Linked DNA regions of Homo sapiens: regions 1 and 3 are each linked to region 2. Evidence: promoter capture Hi-C in 16 types of primary human blood cells and fetal thymus (Javierre and others, 2016). All regions are on one chromosome and are shown on one strand. The core of a region is centred on a gene start or on the middle of the fragment in contact, and the rest is flanking DNA. Distances in the headings are between cores, read along the strand shown.

What was found. Contacts are between HindIII fragments. The CHiCAGO score rates a contact against its expected background, and 5 or more counts as called.
Region 1: a fragment that was not itself captured here is called in contact with the fragment with the promoter of DND1 in region 2 in 5 of 17 cell types (fetal thymus, erythroblasts, naive B cells and 2 more); the score reaches 7.8 in fetal thymus.
Region 3: a contact is called between a fragment that was not itself captured here and the fragment with the promoter of DND1 in region 2, in 11 of 17 cell types (neutrophils, total CD4 T cells, activated CD4 T cells and 8 more). The highest score is 7.6, in neutrophils.

The regions. Positions count from the first base shown.
Region 1 is chr5:140,347,825-140,350,524 of GRCh38, forward strand. No RefSeq gene overlaps it. Among named protein-coding and RNA genes, the nearest start is that of HBEGF, 2.6 kb to the left of the region's middle. The HindIII fragment of the contact is 1,143 bases long and covers 736-1,878 here.
Region 2 is chr5:140,672,171-140,674,870 of GRCh38, forward strand. It overlaps DND1 (DND microRNA-mediated repression inhibitor 1), which reads right to left and starts at 1,406. Exons shown (of 4, transcript NM_194249.3): 1 at 1,349-1,406; 2 at 1,101-1,218; 3 at 275-736. The coding sequence starts at 1,372. WDR55 (WD repeat domain 55) reads left to right here. Exons shown (of 7, transcript NM_017706.5): 7 at 1-175. HARS1 (histidyl-tRNA synthetase 1) reads right to left here. Exons shown (of 13, transcript NM_002109.6): 12 at 2,509-2,655; 13 at 1,735-2,158. The coding sequence ends at 2,087. RefSeq lists enhancers at 280-1,075, 1,076-1,871. The HindIII fragment of the contact is 8,462 bases long and covers 1-1,431 here.
Region 3 is chr5:140,385,804-140,388,503 of GRCh38, forward strand. All of the region lies in intron 1 of ANKHD1-DT (ANKHD1 divergent transcript), which reads right to left. LOC124901087 (a long non-coding RNA gene) reads left to right here. Exons shown (of 2, transcript XR_007058967.1): 2 at 770-986. Among named protein-coding and RNA genes, the nearest start is that of ANKHD1-DT, 14 kb to the right of the region's middle. The HindIII fragment of the contact is 1,149 bases long and covers 738-1,886 here.

The sequences.
Region 1 (2,700 bases), core at 57-2,556, 320 kb before region 2:
TGACGTCTCTCAAATGGAAAAAATAATAACAATAATAATAATGACTACTTTGTAGGGAGCTTTTTGAGAAATGAATGCGGGAACACATAAAAGTAGTTAGTATAGTGCCAGGCACACTATAAGCTCTCAATAAATGTGACCCATTATTATTGTTGCTGTTAATAATAATCACTAAGCACTTGACCACTCTATTTCCTTAGAGGCCTCTTTTCTCTCACTTCTCTAGATCGCTTGCCTTCCCCTAGGCCATATCTGAGGCTTTATGATATAGTTGGGCTGGTTTCAGACAGAAGCTCACCTGTCACCTATTTGGCTAAGAGCCACTGTTAGATTATCCTTTTGGGTGATGAGTATCGGGCCTAGGACCTCAGTGCATGGTCACCGCCCAAGCCATGACTTTGCCCTCCCTCAGCAGCTGCCTGGCCACCTGCTTCCCCAAAACAAAGCCACCTTGGGGTCAAGGCTCTCCCCAGGGGAGGGTGGAGAGAAACACTTCCTGACACATGGTCAAATCACCCCCTTTCCCCCACCCTCGCCAGAGTCACACCCTGCTCTCTTGCCCCAGCCTGCCTTTCTCCCTTCACATGCTCTGTCCTTCCGCCTTCTCACCCCCACATCAGCCTCAGTCCCATTCATGGGGCAACTCCAAACTTTCATCACACCTGGAGCCTCACCCCAGCTAGGTTTGTGTGTCAGCCAGGTTTTACAGGAAGGGCCTGAAAAAAGAAGATAAAAAGCTTGAATTGGATTTGGGACAGTCACTTCCCCTCTCAGAATCTTGGATGTCTCTGAGCAAAGAAAAGGAATCACAATTCATGCTGAGGCAATCTCATTAACTCAATTATATCATAAACATTAACTGAACATTTTTGGGGGGCACTGGGGACATAGAAATAAATAAGACAGCCCAGGACCTGCTTTCACAGAGCTTATATTCTATAGTAGACAGGCAGCACATTAAGGAAATAAACAAGGAAAAACATATCCTATAGTGATAACTGCTAAGATGAAAGTTAAAATACAATGATGTGCTGTAGGATAATATGTTCCAGTGCCCAGGATGACACTTTAAACTGATTAGCAAAGCCTTCTCTGAGCAGGTGACATGTAAGCTGAGGCCTGAATGAGAAGAAGAAATCAGATTTGGGATCATCTATGACAAAAGCATTCCAAGATGTGCAAATAGTGCAAAGACTCTGAAATGGAAAAAAGTTGGGAGCATTCAAGGAAAAGCAAGAGGGCCAAAAAAGGAGAGATATGGGATGATATTGGAACAAAGGCTAGCAACAGATAAAAGAGGACGTTATAAGCCAAGGTAGACACTGGATTTTATGCCCCATTATTGTCAGAATCATATGAGATGTCAATGAGACAGCACTGTCATGCAGGATTCCTCCATATTGTCCCCTCCTCCTGCTCAGGTCTCCCCCACCTGCTCTCTGGATGTCAGGTTGTCAAATGCCAGGAACATAGTCCTAAGGAAGTAGAGTTCAGACAGACAAGCCTGCTTTTATTGACTGTCTATTGACCATGAGCAAACTGAGGCTTGGAGACTGATTAGCCCTGGGCCACCAGTGAGTCAGAAGGGGGCAAGTGCAGAGCAGAAACCCTGGCATCCTGCTTCCCAGCCCATGCGAGTTTCCTGGGCCTCTGGAAAGGCAGGCTCCATGGGACTCTGAGTGCTGCTGACTCACTGCTAGGCCAGAGTTCTTGATTTGGAGAGAGCACTTGCTCCCCAGTGGGGAGGACCTGGAAGAAAGCGGTGCTAGTGGTGACAATTCCCCTGTAATCAACACTGCACATGCATTATCTTGCTTGATCCTCACAACATCCCCCAAACTAGACACTGTTATCATCATCTGCATTTTAAAGGATTGAAGCTTTAAAAGGTAACATCCCAAGGTCACCCAGCTAGTGAGTGTCTCAGCCTCAATTTGAAACCCCCTCGTTCACTTGGGCTTGTGCTCTCCTAAGCTCAACACTCAAATGGATGAGACGACAGCCGCCATCTCTATGCTTCTGTGGAGGGTAACATTATCAGTTTTACTGAGTTTCAGTCCTTCATCTGTTCTGAGGGATAATAAGAAACTCTGGCTCACTAGACTGGAAGGATGCTTAGGTAAGCACAGCAGGGCAGCTAATGAAATGGATACAGTCTTGGGAGTCAGATACTTGGGGGTTCAAATTTTGTTGGTTTTTTTTTCTTTCTAACTTTGAACATGTTATTCAATTTCTCTTACCTACAGTTTGCTCACCTGAAAAGTGGGGACAATAATAGTAGTTATTATTATAGGGCTTTTGTGATGATTCAGTCAGATCATGTGTATAAAGCGGAATATGATGCCTGGCACATAGTAGGTACTTACTCAATGACAGCGGTTATTATGACCAAATTTTTTTCTTGCTTTCTTTCCTTTTTCTTTTTAAGTGGGAACTTGAATAAAATGTTGGTTTATCATGAGCTAGCCATCCTCAGAGATGAAGTGTTCCTTTCTGGGAGATGGCCATGCTTATCAAAGAGATGCTAGATCTGCAAGGCCACCCAGAGTTTTGGAAACCTCAACCCAAAAAAGCAACTCAGGCTCAGAGGTCAGAGGGAAGCTGTGCCCCCTGGGGGAGAGGATTCAGCTGCCTTCTCATTCCCCTCTGACCAGAAGTGAATCCTGCACAGCCCTTGAACTCTGCTGCGTTGGGGAGAGG
Region 2 (2,700 bases), core at 156-2,655:
CTCATAGCTTGAGGGTCCTGTGCCTATTTTGCGGTGTGGGGGTGGGGGAAGGTTGAGAATTAAGTCAGGAGGTAATGCTCGGGAAGTGTCACAAATTTAGGTAAGCGGTGGTGGTAGCACCATTGGAAGTTTTAAAAATCTGAGATCAAATAGTAAAAGGTTGCAAATTCTGGCATGTTTGACTCTAAGATCTTGTAACTTTAACAGCTATGCTCAGTATAAAGTGCCGGGCAGAACGCGTTTGGCCCCAACCAGCACCCCCGCCCCAGCCTACCTTCCACCAGGGCCTTTTTGGCCATGGCAGCGGCCCGGTGCGAGCTGAATTTGAGCAGAGCGATCTGCCCGGGCGCCGGTCCGGGGCTGGGCAGCAGCCGCGCCTCCTGCAAGCCGGGACCCAGCGGCTGCAGCGCGAGCAGCAGCGCGCTGCGGGTCAGATTCGGCGGCAGGCCGTCAACGCTCAGCTCACACTTCTCGGTGCTGCGGCACACGAGCAGCGGGCAGGACGGCCGCAGCGGATGGTTGTGCAGCGTGGCGATGGCGGCCTGCGCGCCGCGCCTCGAGCTGTAGCGGGCATAGGCGAAGCCGCGGTTCAGGCCGCTGAAGGTCATCATCAGGCGGAACTCGTAGAGGCGGCCCACGCGCTGGAACAGCGGGATAAGCTGGTGCTCGTACACGTCCTGAGGCAGCCGCCCGATGAACACCTCTGACCCAGCTGGCGGCGGGCTGCCCACCCAGCCTGTGGGAAGAGGGTATGCAAGGCCACCGTCAGGCGACGCTTTCGAATTCTGAGCCCACGGACCCAGCGCGCGGGGGTGGGAGGCGATGTGAACAAAGGTCTGTGAAATGGGTTTACACCCGTACCCTGGGTGGTTGGCATAATTAGGTGACTGCGCTAACAAGGGGGCTGGCACAGAGTAGGTACACCTTGAGATTGGCCCCCTCCCTCGACGGGGCGGGTGGACGTGGAGCCACAGTTCCTCCTTTGCTGGGGGGTATAAATCCGGGTAGTTCGCAGTTTCTGACAGTGAAGGCTCGGAGCAGCCCCTCCCCCAAAGGGGGCTGGTGTAGCCGGACAGGCGGAGGGGCTGGGACTACCGTACCTGGGGGTGGCCCGCCATACTTCCTCTGCCCGTTCACCTGCACCAGGCGGATGCCTGTCTCCCTGACCCACGCCTCCAGCGCCGCCTTGTTCTCTGGATTCACCCTCTCACACCACAGCTGAGAGGGAAAGGAAGGTTGGAATGGCGGATCGCCAAGCGCGCCCCCACCTCTCCTGTGGTACTGGGGTCCCTAAAGCCGACCCCCGCTCCGGCGGGGCTCGCCGGCCCCCAAGTCGCCAGCCGCTTACCTCACAATCCCGCTTGGACTGCATGGCTCTCCAGCTGGCCCCCTCGTACCCTCTTTATAACTTCCTCCCCACCGGCCTCTGGAAGCTTCCCTACCCCTCCACCCCGCAAGCTCTCATTGGCTCTGAGCGCGACCCCGCCTCCCAGGGGGGTGGAGGTATCCACTGCACGTGCGCCGCCCGGGCTTCGCTCAGACCTTCAGGTGAAAGCTGCAAAGTCGCGGGTGCGTATGTACGGGGGCTGCCTCCCGAGGAGGAGCTCCCAAGCCGCAGGGTGGACGCTGGAGACAAGAACCTCAGGGTCACAAGTTTACTGTTTTTCTCCCTTTTCCATCCCTACATTGGTCTGCTGGGGAAGGCGGGGCTAGGCATCACTGACACACGCAGACTCCGTGGTTGAGGCATTTTATTGGACCTTTGGCAATTGGTGGTGGGGAGGCATCTGCTCCAACTGGTGCGGGGCCCTGCAGATGGGACCATCTCAGGCTGGGTCCTTGTAGCCCAGGAGCACAGACTGGACTAAGCCTCCTGGGCCTTGTATGAAAAAGGTGTTGTACCTGGCCGTTTTTGCCAGTAATAATCAATAAAATAACCATAATAAAAATCAAAGGCTCTGTTCTGACCACTCTTCAGGTCTTCCGCTGAAACGGAAAAGTGCAAAGCAATTGAAGTACATATGCAGTTTGTCTTAACCTCAAATAGTGCCAGTCCCACTTCCTTTCCTCTGATAGTTTGTTCAGTTCAGCAGATGCAGAGGGGCTGGCCTGTTCTCCTTTTGATTTCCTCCACAAGGTCTTCTCTTCGGACATCCACCTGGCCAGGATGGGAGAAGAAGGTGGTATAAGCATCTTCCATTCCACTGCTCCCCGAGTGCCTAGTTTCCTCTAGCCCTCTAGGCATCAGGCTTGTCTCAGCTGGGAGCAGGAACCTAATTAAACACCTCAGGCTAGAGTGTGCCTCTTGGGGGAGCCAACAAACCATAAGGTATATGCAGGGATGGAGATCTCACCCTACTAAGACCACAGTAACAGGTTAAGCCCTCAAGGCTTTTATGAGTTGTACTAATATCAATGCCAGGCTTTTTCTCAGGTCTTGAATGGGCATGGGCCTGCCAAAATGGCATACATTCTCTGTCCCTTAGCCTTCCTGCCCACCTCCCTCACCTCTTCCCTGCTCGTCACTGAACGGAGCTTGATGACCCCATCCTTGAGTTCCTGCTCGCCGATGATAGCCACCAGTGGGATGCCTGCCTCCTCACAGTACTGTAACTGGTTCAGTAGCTTTGGGTTCTTCTTGTACAGCAGCTCAGCCTGCAGGGGACAAGAGCAGAAGATGAAGGCTGGCTTCTGCTGTCC
Region 3 (2,700 bases), core at 62-2,561, 290 kb before region 2:
GTGCAGTGATGCAAACTAGACCATGTTCCTTCACTAGATCCTCTGCTATTTTCCCTATCTATTTTTGAGACAGTCTTGCTGTGTCAGCCAGGCTGGAGTGCATTGGTGGGATGTCAGCTCACTGCAACCTCTGCTTCTTGGGTTCAAGCGATCCTCCCACCTTAACCTCCCAAGTAGCTGGGACTATAGGCGCCTGCCACCATGCTCATTTAAGTTTTGTATCTTTTGTAGAGATGGAGTTTCACCATGTTGGCCAGGCTGGTCTCAAACTCCTGAGCTCAAGTAATCTGCCCACCTCAGCCTCCCAAAGTGCTGGGATTACAGGTGTGAGCCACTGTGCCCGGCTTCCTCTGCCATTTTCTTTCTTTCTTTTTCTTTTTTTTTGAGACGGGTTTCCACTCTTGTTGCCCAGGCTGGAGGGCAATGATGCAATCTTGGCTCACTGCAACCTCAGCTGCTGGGGTTCAAGCAATTCTCCTGCCTCAGCTTCCCAGGTAGTTGGGATTACAGGTGCACGCCACCATGCCTGGCTAATTTTTGTATTTTTAGTAGAGACGGGGTTTCACCATGTTGACCAGGCTGGTCTCGAACTCCTGACCTCAGGTGAATCTGCCTGCCTCGGCTTCCCAAAGTGCTGGGATTACAAGCATGAGCCACCACAGCTGACCAAAAAAATTTTTTTCAAAACAAAAAAATTTAATGAGAAGAGTGGCATCTTCAATGTCTGGCTTTATAAAAGCTTGATTCTTATATCTGCTTCTGTATTCAGTCAAATCCATGAGTGTTTTGGTTGAAGAATATGAAGAAAATCTGGCTCAACACAGCTATGTAGTTGGAAAAGGAAGAAATACTTCAACAGATTTTTCAGAAAACTGGATATTCCCTTCAATACACCAAAATCCAACAACTGTTAGTTTCTTAAAGGTTGAGACCATAACTATAAAATGTCCATACTCTGTTATATTAAAATCCATTGGTCTATCACATACTTTCATTCTGTGTTGTTGTTTTGAGACAGGGTCTTGCTCAGCTACCCAGGGTGGAGTGCAGTGTCTGCAATCACTGCTCATTTCAGCCTTGACTTCCTGGGCTCAGGCGATCCTCCCACCTCAGACTACAGGCATGTGCCACCACACCCAGCTAATTTTTTATATTTTTAGTAGAGACAGGGTTTTGCCATGTTGCCTAGGCTGATCTTGAACTTCTGAGCTCAAGTGATCCTCCAGCTTTGGCCTCCCAAAGTGCTGGGATTATAGGCATGAGCCACGGTGCCCAGCCCTAATCAAAAAAAATTATTTGTAGAGACAGGGTGTCCCTATGTTGCCCAGGCTGGTCTGGAACTCGTGGGCTCAAGCGATCCTCCTGCCTCAGCCTCCCAAAGTGCTGGGATTACAGGCCTATTATGTACTTTCTTTTTTTTTTTTTTAGATGGAGTCTCGCTCTGTTGCCCAGGCTGGAGTGCAGTGGTGCCATCTCAGCTCACTGTAACCTCTGCCTCCTGGGTTCAAGCGATTCTCATACCTCAGCCTCCCGAGTAGCTGGGACTACAGGTGCTCACCACCATACCCAGCTAATTTTTGTATTGTTAATAGAGACGGGGTTTCACTATGTTGGCCAGTCTGGTCTCGAACTCCTGACCTCAAGTGATCCACCTGCCTTGGCCTCCCAAAATGTTGGGATTACAGGCATGAGCCACCGCGCCTGGCCTAATATACTTTCAGTGGATCTTTTACACATGTATGATTTTGTAACATCATGATTGGTCATTTGGAAAACATTGGTTCACTGAACTGTGCAGATCTTTCAAATATTGACACATTTTTATTATATAATATAAAAAACACATTTATTAATACCATGATTTATCTCATCAAAAAAGTTTTTAAAGCTTTTAGAAAACTGTCAACCAGGAATATATACAATTTTCCAAAATTCTCATTTTTGCTCAAAGGTTTTGAATTTTATCATTGGAAATAAATATTGTCAGGTGTTTTCCTTCAAGTGACAGGCTCCAGAGAATGTCTGCCAAATATCCACATCTGAATTACCAACATTTGCCTGTCAGTGCTATTTTCAAGTAAAAATGGTGTTCTATGAAAACAAAAAAGGCCAATGCAGCTTGCAACCAAAATAGCTATGCTCCTTGAGATAACAAATGTACTTTGATATATAGCAGAAGTGCTCTGTGTATCCTTCTCATTTCCTCACATAGAATATTAAAAACACTTGTACTCAAGGGTCAAGTTTTAATAAAATTAATTTTTACTGCTTCATCAAGGATTCTTAATAAAATCGGCCTTTTCCTGCTTTGAGTGCCCAATGGGGAAGAATACATTTACTGCTAGTACAGTTTGATACCATTACCTAATACTGTGCTGAGGTACCAGCTATCTTTGTTTGTTTTTTAGAAACAGGAGCTCACTCTGTTGCCCAGGCTGGATTGCAGTGGTGAGATCATAGCTCACTGTAGCCTTAAACTCCTGGGCTCAAGCAATCCTCCTGCCTTGGCCTCTTGAGTAGCAGGGACTACAGGCGTGCACCACCACACCCAGCAGTACCAGCAAATTTTTAGCCCCCCCCCCCATTGCTTTTGTACCATCAGTGCAAGTCAATATAGTGAAAAATAATATATTAGAATTATAATGAAAATAGTTTTGACTTCATGGATTCCCCTGAAAAGGTCTTGAGGGCTGCAGGAAT